Linked DNA regions of Homo sapiens: regions 1 and 2 are each linked to region 3. The links are contacts of gene promoters, found by promoter capture Hi-C in blood cells and fetal thymus (Javierre and others, 2016). All regions are on one chromosome and are shown on one strand. Each heading gives the region's core, a stretch centred on a gene start or on the middle of the fragment in contact. The rest is flanking DNA. Distances are from core to core; before and after follow the strand shown.

The links. The method cuts DNA at HindIII sites, captures the fragments that hold promoters and counts their contacts. A CHiCAGO score of 5 or more calls a contact.
Region 1: a contact is called between a fragment that was not itself captured here and the fragment with the promoter of SDR42E1 in region 3, in 3 of 17 cell types (monocytes, M2 macrophages and M1 macrophages). The highest score is 6.7, in monocytes.
Region 2: a fragment that was not itself captured here is called in contact with the fragment with the promoter of SDR42E1 in region 3 in 2 of 17 cell types (M2 macrophages and M1 macrophages); the score reaches 5.5 in M2 macrophages.

What each region holds. Positions count from the first base shown.
Region 1 is chr16:82,238,199-82,242,519 of GRCh38, reverse strand. No RefSeq gene overlaps it. Among named protein-coding and RNA genes, the nearest start is that of MPHOSPH6, 70 kb to the right of the region's middle. The HindIII fragment of the contact is 1,980 bases long and covers 588-2,567 here.
Region 2 is chr16:82,220,395-82,225,185 of GRCh38, reverse strand. No RefSeq gene overlaps it. Among named protein-coding and RNA genes, the nearest start is that of MPHOSPH6, 53 kb to the right of the region's middle. The HindIII fragment of the contact is 6,919 bases long and covers 1-4,791 here.
Region 3 is chr16:82,008,304-82,013,022 of GRCh38, reverse strand. SDR42E1 (short chain dehydrogenase/reductase family 42E, member 1) reads left to right here and starts at 1,553. Exons shown (of 3, transcript NM_145168.3): 1 at 1,553-1,636. RefSeq lists enhancers at 1,209-1,288, 1,299-1,388 and a silencer at 1,629-1,778. The HindIII fragment of the contact is 9,437 bases long and covers 1-4,719 here.

The DNA of each region.
Region 1 (4,321 bases), core at 328-2,827, 230 kb before region 3:
CAACACTCTTTACAGGGCACTCTCAAAGGACTTTCTTTGGCCTCTGAATGTACTGGAGCTTTTGAAATGGATGCAAGCCCTTCCACGCCTGCTGGGTTCCCCTTTATAATCCACTGCAACCATTAATACGAAAAAAAGACGCTTATACGCTACTACTTTAGACACTTTCTTATTCAGAGCTAGGAACGGCCCCAGGAGGTGAGGCCTCCAACCCCTCAGGCAGGAGAGAAATAATAACCTTTTCATACTCTTTGCCCAGACTTGAGGAAGCCCAGGGTGTGAGTACCACAAATCGTAGCCAGCTGCGAGATTCCAGGCCAGCTCAGAATAAGAAACCTACTGCAGAGGGGGCTTTCGCAGAAAAAAGCCCAAGTGCACGAAAGATACCACACTCATCCCCATGGAGATTTCAGGTCCAGCTGAGGCCCCGTATCCCAGTGAGAGTCTCCAGTGGTCCTTGAAGTTGTTCCCACAGTTTATCTAGATCTCATGCTGCCCAAATCACATAATCCTTCATGCCTAGGGGGTTGTTTTCTCTTCTTTCTGAGAAAAAGGCACAGGCTAAGTGATTCTGAGGAGAGAAAGCTTCAACTTGCAAGGTTCACCAACCTCACTCTCTACTCCCAGTGTCTCTCTTGCCACTGAAAGTAATGTCAAGAACCGCAATTACTTTTGCACCAACCTAATATTTATACTTGTTATCCCAGCAGGAAAATACAGCATCCTTTCAGTAATGGACATCGGCTGATTTGCCTGCCCTACATCCACCACTTGTCATTCTGAGGCTGTCAGTCATAGCCCCCTAAGCCACTCCCCTTGGTGATGGCAAGGGTCCCAGATCAGGCCAATCATAATCCACAATGCCCCTGGTGGCTAGTCCGAGAAGAGAGCATGTTACTCAAGATGGGCTGCCCAGAGCTCTTCCCTGGAACTAATGCACAGACATCACATGAAAGCAGGCACTTTCCTTCTGCGAGGGGTCACTGAGCTAGGAGGATGGGAATCCGGGCCTGAAAGCAAGGACCTGCCTGCAGAGAGAAGCCAAACAAAGAAAAAAGAAGAGAGATGAGAAATGGGAAGACATATATACATCTCACTGCCAAGGTTCTGTATCCTGTAGTTCTTCCCTTGATCTTGGAAGCTATTCCACTGTCCATTTCCTCTTTTGCTTAAAGTAGTTGACACTATGTTTTTGTAGCTCACAACAAAAGGAGTCACGAATAATATTCTCCTTGAAGTTCTTTCTAACTGGGATAGACCCTTGAAGAAATACACCCCCCTCTTAATCATTTCAAGGTAAAAGACAAGTGAAAAGAAAGAAGAATGTATAAAACTACAGACTCTTACATAACCGCTGTAGGGTATGGCTATATCTAGCTGAGGGAATCTGTCCTGAATAATAAAGTAAGTAATAACCCAACAACAGGGACAACTAATATTCTGAGGCATTGCTGGCCATGCCCATGGAGAACTTGCCCCTATCCCCCTGGTCAAATTGGATGATGAGAAGTGGACAAAACTTTGATTAAAATGAGTCAAATAGAAAGAGCTGATCCAAAACATCACACAGAACTGAAGTACGAGGCTGCCATCTTGGGGTGTTGCAACAGACCAAATGAAAGTAAAGTGGTCTGAGAACTACCAAGAGAGAAGAAAAAAAAACAGGCACTTCCTTCTTCTTAACAACTCTCCCAAATGAAACACATCATTTGTTTACTGATCTAGTGTAGCCGAACGAAGAAACTACTATTTTAACAGTTGGCACCTATGTATTTATTTTATTTGTTTGGGTATTTTTTTTTTAGAAGAACTCATCTTTATTAAGAAACAACTTTGCTAGATTGCTTTGAGTGAAGAAGGTGAGATCCCAAACCTGCCTTGTAAGGGAGAAAAGAAATAAACAGAACAGTAAACTTAGCTGCAAAAGAAGTCATCCAGAATATTGGAGGTTGGCAAGGGATGTGAGATGGGACCAGACTCTTGGCAGGAAGCAGGAGCCTGCAGACTGGAGTGCTGGTGAGAGGTTCTTTGTGGTGGAATGGTCAAGGAAATTTAAAGAACAGAGCCTCAAATCTATACTTTAAAGATTTTTGTATTTAAGACTCATAAACATCTTTTATATCTTCCATCTTCAATAAAGTCTGACAATACACGTCCATGGGCAAAAAAGAAGGAAACAGGATGAGTACCCTGTCTGGTATGCATGAATGTGAGCAAATAATACACGGTGGGAGATGAGATGGGAATGAGCTCATCAGCAAGAGAAACCTGGTCCTAGAAATAAGATCACCACCACCCCCAATCAGCTTTTCACATTTTAGGAAGAACATTAACTTTTTCACAAAATGTGGGTTAGAAGTCATTTTAAACTTTAGGTTTAAAGACAATTCATTTTAAACTTTAGGTTTCCAAAACCCTTTGCCCATGTCTCTGACGTGAATACTAGACTGTATTTTCACATACCTTGTGGACTCACTAACTTGAGCTCTTTGAGGACAGGGGCATGTCTTACCCATACTAGTGCCTAGAACAATGTCTGGCGTGCATTTTTTAATTAATTATAAGCTTTATATTTCAGAGTGGCTTAAGATTTACAGAAAAAATTGCAAAGACAGTATAGAAAGTTCCCCTAAACCTCACACCAGGTATCCCCTATTATAAACATTTTCCATTAGCATTGTACATTTGACATAATTAACGAATCAATATTCAAGCATTATTATTAACCAAAGCCCACACTTTATTCAGATTACCTTAGTTTTCATCCAATGTTCTTTCAGTATTTCAGGATCCCACCCAAACATGTCTCTCCATGCTCTTCTTTGCTATGACAGTTTCACAGAATTTCCTTGTTTTTTAAGACTTAGACAGTTTTTAAGTTGCGGTCAAGTATTTTGTACAATGTGAAACAATTGGAATTTGTCTGATCTTTTTCTCATGATTAAACCAAGGTTGCAGAGAAGAAGACCACAGAGGTAAAGTGACATTCTCATCACATCATATCAAAGGTGCATGCTATCAACATAATTTGTCACTGTTAATTTTGACCTTAATCTTCCAACTGAGGACGTGTTTGCCAGGTTTGTCAATGCAAAGTTACACTCCCCTTCCTCTCCTTTCCAGACTTCACTCTTTTGAAGAAGTCACAATGCACAGCCCACACTAAAGAAATGGGAGCCATGCTCCAACCCCTTGGAGCAAAGAGTATCTACATAAATTACTTGCATTTCTTCTGCATAGGATATTTGTGTATCCCCCCCATCTATTTGTTTATTTAATCATTTATTTACATCAGTATGAATGCATGGATATTGATTTCATACCTTGGGCTATAATCCAATACTACTCTATTTTATAGAGCACATTGTCCCCAGTTGGCCATTGGGAGCTCTTGCAGTTGTCTTCTATGTCTCTTTGACACACCCAATTGTTGTGGAGTTTTTTGTTTTGTTTTGCTTTGTTTTGAGGGGGAGAGTTTTGGGGTGGGGATTGTTTTTGTGGGATTTTTATTTATTTCAGTCGGTTTTTGGGGAACAAGTGGTGTCTGGTTACATGGATAAGTTATTTAGTGATTATTTCCAATTTTCTGAAAAAGGGATTGTACCCGAAATATACAGGGGATTCTTAGAACTCAGCAATAAGAGAATAAAAAACCCAATTTATAAATGGGCAAGAGATCTGAACGATTACCTCACTAAAGAAGATATTTCCGAGATTTTGGTGTACCCATCACCCGAGCAGTGTATGCTGTACCCAGTGTGCAGTCTTTTATCCATCACGCACTCCCACCCAAAACGTCTGCATGGTAAAAGAAATAAAAAGCAGAGTAAACAGATAACCCACAGACTGGGAGAAAATATTCTCAAACTATGCATCTGAGAAAGGACTAATATCCAGAATCTACAAGGAACTCAAACAAATCAGCAAGAAAATTATAAATAATCCTATCAAAAAGTGGGCTAAGGACATGAATAGAAAATTCTCAAAGCAAGATACACAAATGGCCAATAAACATATAAAAAAAGCCCAACATCACTAATTATCATGGAAATGCAAATCAAAACCACAGTGCAATACCACTTTACTCCTGCAAGAACGGCCATAATTTTAAAATCAAAAAATAGTAGATATTGGTGTGGATGTGGTGAAAGGGAACACTTTTACAATGCTGGTGAGAATGTAAACTACTACACCCATTATGGAAATTCCTTAAAGAACTAAATGTGGGTTTTCTTTTTTTTTTTTTTAGAACTTTCTGGCACATAAGATGCTCCAGGCTTATCTGGTGTATTTCCTGCTCCAAGTCTTTAAATCCAGGAAG
Region 2 (4,791 bases), core at 1,927-4,426, 210 kb before region 3:
TCAACTTGAGAATAAAGGATCATTTAGGGTATTCTCTTGAACTGCATGTGCTTGATTCCCAAATGCTAATTGCTTAATAATGGACTGGATCACCATCGCCTCCTATAAACAGGGTCGTAGATTGGGTCATGCTACAAGCATTGCCTTATCATCAACCAAGAACCAGGCAGTGACATGAATAATAATATATGGACTTTCCTTAAGAAACTCACAGTCCCAGGGACTTTTTGAAGATAATGACTATGATGGTTAATTTTATGTGTCAACATGACTGAGCTAATGCATGCCCAGATAGTTAGTAAAATATTATTCCCAGGTGAGTCTAGGAGAGATTAGCATTTGAATCAGTAAACTCAACAAAGAAGATCAATCTTCACTATCCAATCCATTGAGGGCACGAATGAACAAAGTGATGGAGGAAGGGTGAATTCTCTCTCTTTCTCTCTTCTTGAGCTGGGATATCCATCTTCTCCTGGCATTTGACAATGGAGCTCCTGGTTCTTGGGCCTTCAGACTCCAGGACTTATGTCCGCACCAACCACCCACCTCCCCACCCTCCAGGTTCTCAGGCCTTTGGACTTAAACTGAATTACCCCACCAGCTACAAATGGCATATCAAGGGTCTTCTCTTGCCTCACCAAGTGAGCCAGTCCTCATAATAAATCACTTCTCATATCTCTCTTTACATATTCTACTGGTTTTATTTCTCTGGAGAACTTTAATATAATGACCATGGACATTTAAACTTTTAAATGAGCTTATTATTATCCTCTCATAAAATTTTCAATGAAGGTATTAAGACCTCATCAAGACAATGGATACAGATGTCTGCTGCAGTCAAACCATAAATGAAAAGCAAAAATGAAACTTAGAGCAAAACCTTTGAGAACAATGACCTCTGTCCCTCTGAGCACTGAATAATAACTAATATATACCATACTCAATTTTTCATATACCCAATTTCTTATTTTATAATAATATGAATACCTACAAGGTAAGTACTATTACTATTATACCCATTTCACAGAAGAAACTGAACATCAGAAAACTTAATAAACGAGCTCACTTTGCTTTTGCTTTTTCCTGAACTACTAATCCCAGGCTAACACAACCCAGCAGGCGCCTGCCCTCTCTGGATAGAACAGCTGCAAATGCTAAGAAATATTAAAGCCTTTGTTTTAATTAACTTGAGGATTTTTCCAATGTTCTGGCTTGGCATGTGGTTATTGAATCTGGTTACTGAATGTTTGGTAGTAGGCCATTCTGCTTGCCAATTCAAATTTATTCACACTGAATAGCTTTTATTTTAAAACAACAAAATCACAAATAAGGCACTAAAAATACAGAGCCAAACTTTGCGAATTTAATGTCACAACCAAATTCAGGTATTTCTTAAGGAAAAAATGTCAGTTGAGAACAGGATGTATAAAGACTTTATTAAATGCTACATTTTCTAATGCTGCTTTAAATTTATTTGTGTTGAAGTAAATGAAGATCATTCTAATAAAAAATGATATTTTTACAGTTGGAAGTATTTTTTTCTTTTTAAGAACCTTAGTTGTTTTTATTCCTCATAATGATTCTTATGAACATATCTTACTAATTGTTCAATAGTGTTTCCTATCAGAGCTATTTGGGATATATTCCTTGAATGATTACGATTTGAAGCACAACAGAAAATTCATAAGAGTTTCTCTTCTGCAAAACATGTTTTCTAAAAACATAATAAAACACTGGTGAAAATCCTATAACCATGTATACAAAAAAGATAGGAGGGAAGATAAGTATAGTGGATGTGAAAAAGTGAGATAAATCCCCATCTTTCACCCTATACAAAAGTCAACTCCAAATGGATTAAGGACTTAGAGGTAAGACCTGATACTATGAAACTACTAGAAAAAAAAAAAAAAAAACTTTGATCTGGGGAAAGATTTTTGGGGGTTAGACTTCAAAAGCATCAGTAACAAAAGCGAAAACAGACAAATGTGATTGTATCAAGCCAAAAACTTCTGCACAGCAAAGAGAACAATTAATGAAGTGAAAAGACCACCTACAGCATGGGAGAAAATATTTGCAAACTATCCATCTGTCTCAGTTTGTGTTGCTTTAAAGGAATACCTGAGACTAGGTGACTTATAAAGAAAAGAGGTTTATTTAGCTCACTGTTCTGCAGGCTGTACAAGAATCCTGGCACCAGCTTCTGCTTCTGGTGAGGGCTTCAGGCTGCTTCCACTCATGGTGGAAGGTGAAGGAGAGCAGGTGTGTACACAGACCACACGGTGTGACAGCAGGGAAGAGAGAGGGGTGAAAGGTACCACCAGACTCTAAACAATCAGCTCTTTGGAACTAATAGAGGGATAACTCGCTCATTACCACAAGGATGGCACCAAGTCATTCATGAGGGATCTGCCCCCATGACCCAAACACCTCCCATTAGGCCCCACCTCCATTGTTGGGGATCAAATTTCAATAGAAGGTTTGGAAGGTCAGATATCCGAACTATAGCACCATCCGATAAGGAATTAACAACCAGAATATATAAGGAACTCAAACAACTCAAGAGCAATAAAACAAACAACAGCAAATAATCTGATCTTAAAACGGACACAGGCACAGAGGCACATGCCTATAGTCCCAACTACTCAGGTGGCTGAGGCAAGAGGATTGAGCCCAGGAGTTTGAAGCTGGCCTGGGCAACACCCCAGTTGACCCCATTCCTAGTTTTTTTTAATGGGCAAAAAACCTGAACAGCCAGTTCTCAAAAGAAAATATACAAATGGCCGAAAGTTAAGCAAAAAAAAAAAAAAACTCAACATCACTAATCTTCAGGGAAATGCAAATCAAAACCACAATGAGATATCATCTCACTCCAGTTAGATTGATTATTATCAAGAAGATACAAAATAATAAATCCCGGAGGGCACAGTGGCTCACACCTGTAATCCCAGCACTTGGGGAGGCTGAGGCAGGCTGATCACTTGAGGTCAGGAGTTCCACACCAGCCTGCCCAATATGGCGAAACCCTATCTCTAGTAAAAATACAAAAATTAGCTGGGCATGATGGCACACACCTGTAATCCCAGCTACTCAGGAGGCTGAGGCATGAGAATCGCTTGAACCCAGGAGGTGGAGGTTGCAGTGAGCCAAGACCATGCCATTGCACTCCAGCCTGGGTGACAGAACGAGACTCCATCTCAAAAATAAAATAAATAAAATAAAATAAAACAAATCCTGGAAAGAATGCAGAGAAAGGGGAATTCTTGTATACTGTTGTAGAAATGCAAAGTAGTACAGCCATACGAAAAATATTATGGAGATCCTCAAAAAACTAAAAATAGAACTGCCATATGATCCAAAAATACCGCCGCTGGGTATATATCCAAAAGAAAGGAAATCATTATATTGAAGATATACTGCACTCCCATGTTTATTAGAGCACTATTCACAACAGTCAAGATACGGACTCTACCTAAGTGTGCATCAATGGATAAAGAATATGTAGTTTGTATACACAATGGAATATTATTCAGCAATAAAAAGAGTGAAGCCCTGTCATTTGCAGAAACATGGATGGAACTGGAGGTCATTATGTTAAGTGAAATAAGCCAGGCACACAAAAACAAATATCACATGTTCTCATGCCTATGTGGTAGCTAAAAAAAAATAGATCTCATGGCGGTAGAGAGTAGAATAGTGCTTACCAGAGGCTGGGGAGGGAAGGAGGAAAAGGGGGAAAGAGAAGTTGGTTAATGGGTACAAAAATACAGTTACATGGAAGAATAAGTTTTAGTATTTGATAGTTCAGTAGGGAAATTATAGTTAACAATAATTTATTGTAGATTTAAAAGTAGCTAGAAGAGAAAGAATTGTAACGTTCCCAACACAGGGGAAAGAAAAATGTTTGAGGTGATAGGTAACCCAATTGCCATGATTTGATCACTACACATTGTATATAGGTATCAAAACATCACGTGTACCCCCCAAGTACGAACTATGATATGTCAATTTTTTTAAAGTTATGAAACATTTTTAAAGGGAAGTATAGAATAAAAGGGAAAATGAGGAAGAGAAGACTGAAGTAATCAGAAGAGAAAAGAAAGGGGAAAAGGAAAGAAAAGAAAAGAAAGGAAAGATGGAAAAAAAGAAGGTTCTTGCTTTGGCTTTCGGTGTAATCCTGCCCTTTGCCATGCTTATGTCACACACTCACACCATACACACACACATACATCATATACACACCACACACCACACACACCACACACACATACCACACACACTGCACACACACCATACCACACACACATCATACACACACCATACAACACACACACACACATCATACACACACACATCACACACACACCACACACACCCCACACCACATACACAAACCACACATGCCACACCGCACACTCACACACCACACACACCATGCACACGCCACACACACCCCACACACCACATACACATCATACACTCACACCACACACATCATACGCATATGCCACACACCACACACACACCATGCACAGCACACACACACATCATACACACACCACACACACCACACCACACACACACCACACACCACAGCACACACACACCACACAACACACATCGTACACACACACCACACATTCACACACCACACACAATCACATACCCACACACAAACACTATGAACCACAGCACACACACCACGAATCACACAGCACACACACCACACCATACACACAGCACACACACCACGCCACACACCCCACACACCACATCACACACACCACACACACA
Region 3 (4,719 bases), core at 304-2,803:
GACAGCAAACTGATCTTTCTGAGATGCATCCACTGCCTGGACATATTATTGGGGGAAGACAATACTAAACAAACACTGATATACAAACTCACATTGAAGTTAATTTCTTTCTCCAGTCATTTCTGTCTTAGATCTCTTGGTCAGACCTTTATAAAATCAACTCACTAAATTATGATGGAAGCTAAGGAAGCAATTATAGAGTTTGTAATTTTCCTTTAAAACACGCCTGATTATATTTTAAAAGAGTCCTCGGTGGCACAAGAATACTAACATTTAAATTCACCATTTCTCATGTTTATCCACACACTCTAAATCTGGGTATCCCTCAGAGGATCCTGTAATTCCCCAAAGGAAGTCTGTCTTCTTTACTGCATCCTCAGTGGGTCTTTTCTTCCTTAGCTGCTGGCCTCAAGAGCATATAGCTGGTCTCTCAGCCCCCTGAATACCCTTCCTCTTCTCTTCTAATTTTTATGTATCCTAAGCAGCCACTGCAAAGCTGTTCTTTAAGACTGCTTAGCACAAGAAGTCTCCTGTGACTTATGCCTGCCTAATAGGTGAGGACAAGACAGGCAGGAAAGCCAGAGCATCCTATGAGAGAGGCCAGTGCCAGGGACTGGCACTTCTTGATTTCTTCACCTGGGCTTCATTAATTTTTATATCCTAGGACTTGAGCTTTGTCCTTGTGACTGTGTGTGCTTAGTGAAAACTGAGCAGTAAATCAGGCAATTGATATGAACCTCTCTGAGTCTGCCTTTGGTACCAGATCTATCGGCAAGAGCACCACATGAAGTCAAAACTTCCATCCTCCAAGACACTAAAATGAAATCCTCCCCAGCCAGGGGTCCATTCCAGGATGCATGTCCATACACGTGTACAGTCTGCAACCATCCACAGAACCACACTCATGATGAGGAGACAAAAGATGGGCCTCAAAAGGAGACCTCTGAGTGAGGATGCCAACTTTCCTTTCTGCATTCCTTGGTTCCTTCAGCAACAAAGATTAGTCTTGGCATCACTGCCTGCTTGGCGACCAGAACAAAGAGAAATAAGGAAAATTAGGGACACAGGAAAACCTATGGGCACACATAGATATGGAAACTCAGAGATAATAGAAACTTAAAGAGATACATGGAGAGTGAATATTCTGCCTCCCTATAGAGCCTTTTCCATCATCCATCCACCCAAGCAATGCTGACCTGAGTGCCTATTTATCAGGCACTGGTCTTGGCCTTGGGGATAAACAAAGATGGAGGTGAAAGTCTAAAAGCAGACACTGGAGGTGGGAAGAGCAGTTGACGTGGCCCTAACAGGGTTCCCACCACGGCGGAACGCACAGACAGGGGACGTGGGGGAAGACGTGACCCTAAAAGGGTTCCCGCCACGGCGGAACGCACAGCCAGAGAACGTGGGGGAATTCATGAAGCGAACCTCCTGCTACCTCAACGCCGGTGAAGGTGAAGGAGACACCTGCGCGTCATAGAGACTCCGAGACCTCCAGGCTTCCTAGAGAGGCCCGGAAGTGGCTCCAGGAGGCAGGTCCGACGGCTTCGGCGCCCCAGCTGTGGTGATGGGTAGCTAGGAGGCCTGGGCCTCTCTGCCTGCTGTAGCCGTCTGCCGCGCCCTTGTTCCTGCAGCTGTGAGTGGGCCTGGGCTGGGGTTGGGGGGCCGCCGCCCTTCCGCGGGGACCCTGGACCGCCTCGGCCTGGAACGCGACAGGTGGCGGTCCCGGGGGTGGGGGACGGTGGTGAATGACTGAGCAGGGTGGCGGGAAGGAGTATCCCCTTTCAGATGTCTTCCTGATCCCAGGGGACCGGGCGCAGCTTGGCTTTCTAGAATGTCGCCAAGGCCTCAAACACTGGCCCTCCGCATTTTTTGTTTTTAAGGACATCGGGGCCCCAAGCTCCGAACTTTCCACAGGTGGCTGGCTATACTTGATTCCTGTCTTTGATTTTCTGCACACTTTGGGAGAACGATTACCTCCTCTTTATCACTTGGTTCTGGTTTGCCACTTAAAAGTGGCAGTGACAGGTTCCCATTTAAACTGCATGTATTTGTTGGGAAAAGGTAAGTAGGTTTAAACAAAACCTTATAGGCTAGTCATAATACCAGATGAATCAGATGTGACAGAAATTGTGGAGGTGGAGTGAGCCCTGAAAATCTGAGACGGGTCTCAGTTCATTTAGAAAGTTTATTTTGCCAAGGTTGAAGACATGTACCCATGACACAGCCTCAGGCGGTCCTGACGATGTATTCTTAATGTGGTCAGAGCCCAGTTTCGTTTTCTACATTTTAGGGAGACATGAGACAAGAACAGATGTAAGATGAACATGTTTTTCGGTCTGGAAAGGCGGGACAACTCGAAACGGGGAGGGGGCTTCCAGGTCATAGGTAGGTAAGAGACAAATGGTTGCATTATTTTGAGTTTGATTAGCCTCTCCAAAGGAAGCAATCAGATATGCCTTTATTTTAGTGAGCAGAGATACATGAATAGAATGGGAGGCAGGTTTGCCCTAAGCAGTTCTCAGCTTGACTTTTCCCTTTAGCTTAGTGATCTTGGGACCCCAAGATTTATTTTCCTTTCACAGTGATAAGATAATGACCTAAGCGAATCTGTATTGTCCCAGCCTTATTGTGCGGCATTACATGTAGTGGTTAAGAGTCATACAGACCCGGCTTCAAGTCCTGAACCCTGCCCAACCCCTTATGACCTGCATAATTTGTGGGCAAGGTTCCTAACCTCTGATCTATTTTCCTCATTTCTGAAAGCTGATGATAATACTAGTAACAACTTCGGAAGATTGTCCTGAGGCTTAAATGCTAAACCTTTAAACTACCTGTATTAATCCATTCTCATGCTGCTAATAAAAACATACCCAAGACTGGGTAATTTATAAAGTTAAGAGGTTTGATGGACTCACAGTTCCACATGGCTGGGGAAGCCTCATAATCATGCCAGAAGGCAAAAGAGGAGCAAAGTCACATCTTACGTCTTATATGGTGGCAGGCAAGAGAGCTTGTGTAGGGGAACTCCCCTTTATAAAACCATCAGATCTTTTGAGACTTATTCACTATCAAGAGAACGGCATGGGAAAAACCCACCCCTGTGATTCAGTTACCTCCCACTGGGTCCCTCCCAGGACACGTGGTAATTATGGGATCTACAATTCAAGGTGAGATTTGGGTGGAGACACAGCCAAACCATATCATTCCGCCCCTGGCCCCTCCCAAATCTCATGCCCTCACATTTCAAAACCAATCATGCCTTCCCAACAGTCCCACAAAGTCTTAACTCATTTTAGCATTAACTCAAAAGTCCACACTCCAAAGTCTCATCTGAGGCAAGGCAAGCCCCTTCCACCTATAAGCCTGTAAAATCAAAAGCAAGTTAGTTACTTCCTAGATACAATGGGGGTACAGGTATTGGGTAAGTATACTCATTCCAAAAAGGAGAAATTGGCCACAACGAAGGGGCTACAGGCCCCATGCAAGTCTAAAATCCAGCGGGGCAGTCACATCTTGAAACTCCAAAATGACCTCCTTTGACTCCGTGTCCCATATCCAGGTCATACTGATGCAAGAGGTGGTTTCCCATAGTCTTGGGCAGCTCCACCCTTGTGGTTTTGCAGGGTACAGCCCCACTTTTGGCTGCTTCCAGGGCTGGCGTTTAGTGTCTGCTGCTTTTCTAGGTGTACGGTGCAAGCTGTTGGTGGATCTACCATTCTGGGGTCTGGAGGATGGTAGCTCTCTTCTCACAGCTCCACTAGGCAGTGTCCCAGTGGGGACGCTGTGGGGTGGTTCCAACCCCACATTTCCCTTCCATGCTGCTCTAGCAGTGGTTCTCCATGAGGGCCCCACCCCTGCAGCCAACTTCTGCCTGGACATCCAGGAGTTTCCATACATCCTCTGAAACCTAGGGAGAGGTTTCCAAACCTCAGTTCTTGACTTCTGTGTACCCACAGGCTTAACACCGCATGGAAGTTTCCAAGGCTTGGGGCTTGCACCCTCTGAAGCCCCAGTTTGAGCTGTACCTTGGCCCGTTTTAGCCACAGCTGGAGCAGCTGGGACGCAGAGCACCAAGTCCCTAGGCTGCATAGAGCAGGGGGACCCTGGACCCAGCCCAGGAAACCATTTTTGCCTCCTAGACTTCTGGGCCTTTGGTAGGAGGGGCTGCCAAGAAGGTCTCTGACATGCCCTGGAGACATTTTCCCCATTGTCTTGATGATTAGCATTTGGCTCCTTGTTACTTATGCAAATTTCTGCAGCCAGCTTGAATTTCTCCCCAGAAAATGGGTTTTTCTTTTCTTTTGTATCATTAGGCTGCAAATTTTTCAAACCTACACTCTGCTTCCTCTTGAATGCTTTGCAGCTTAGAAATTTCTTACCCCAGATACCCTAAATCATCTCTCTGAAGCTCTGACTTACACAGATCTCTAGGGCAAGGACAAAATGCCATCAGTCTCTTTGCTAAAACATAACGAGTCACTTTTGCTCCAGTTCCCAACAAGTTCCTCATCTCTGAGACCACCTCAGCCTGGACTTTATTGTCTATATCACTGTCAGCATTTTGGTGAAAGCCATTCAACAAGTCTCTAGGAAGTTCCAAACTTTCCCACATCTTCCTGTCTTCTTCTGAGCCCTCCAAACTGTTGCAGGCTTTGCCTGTAAACCAGTTCCAAAGTCACTTCCACATTTTCAGATATCTTTACAGTAGCACCCCAC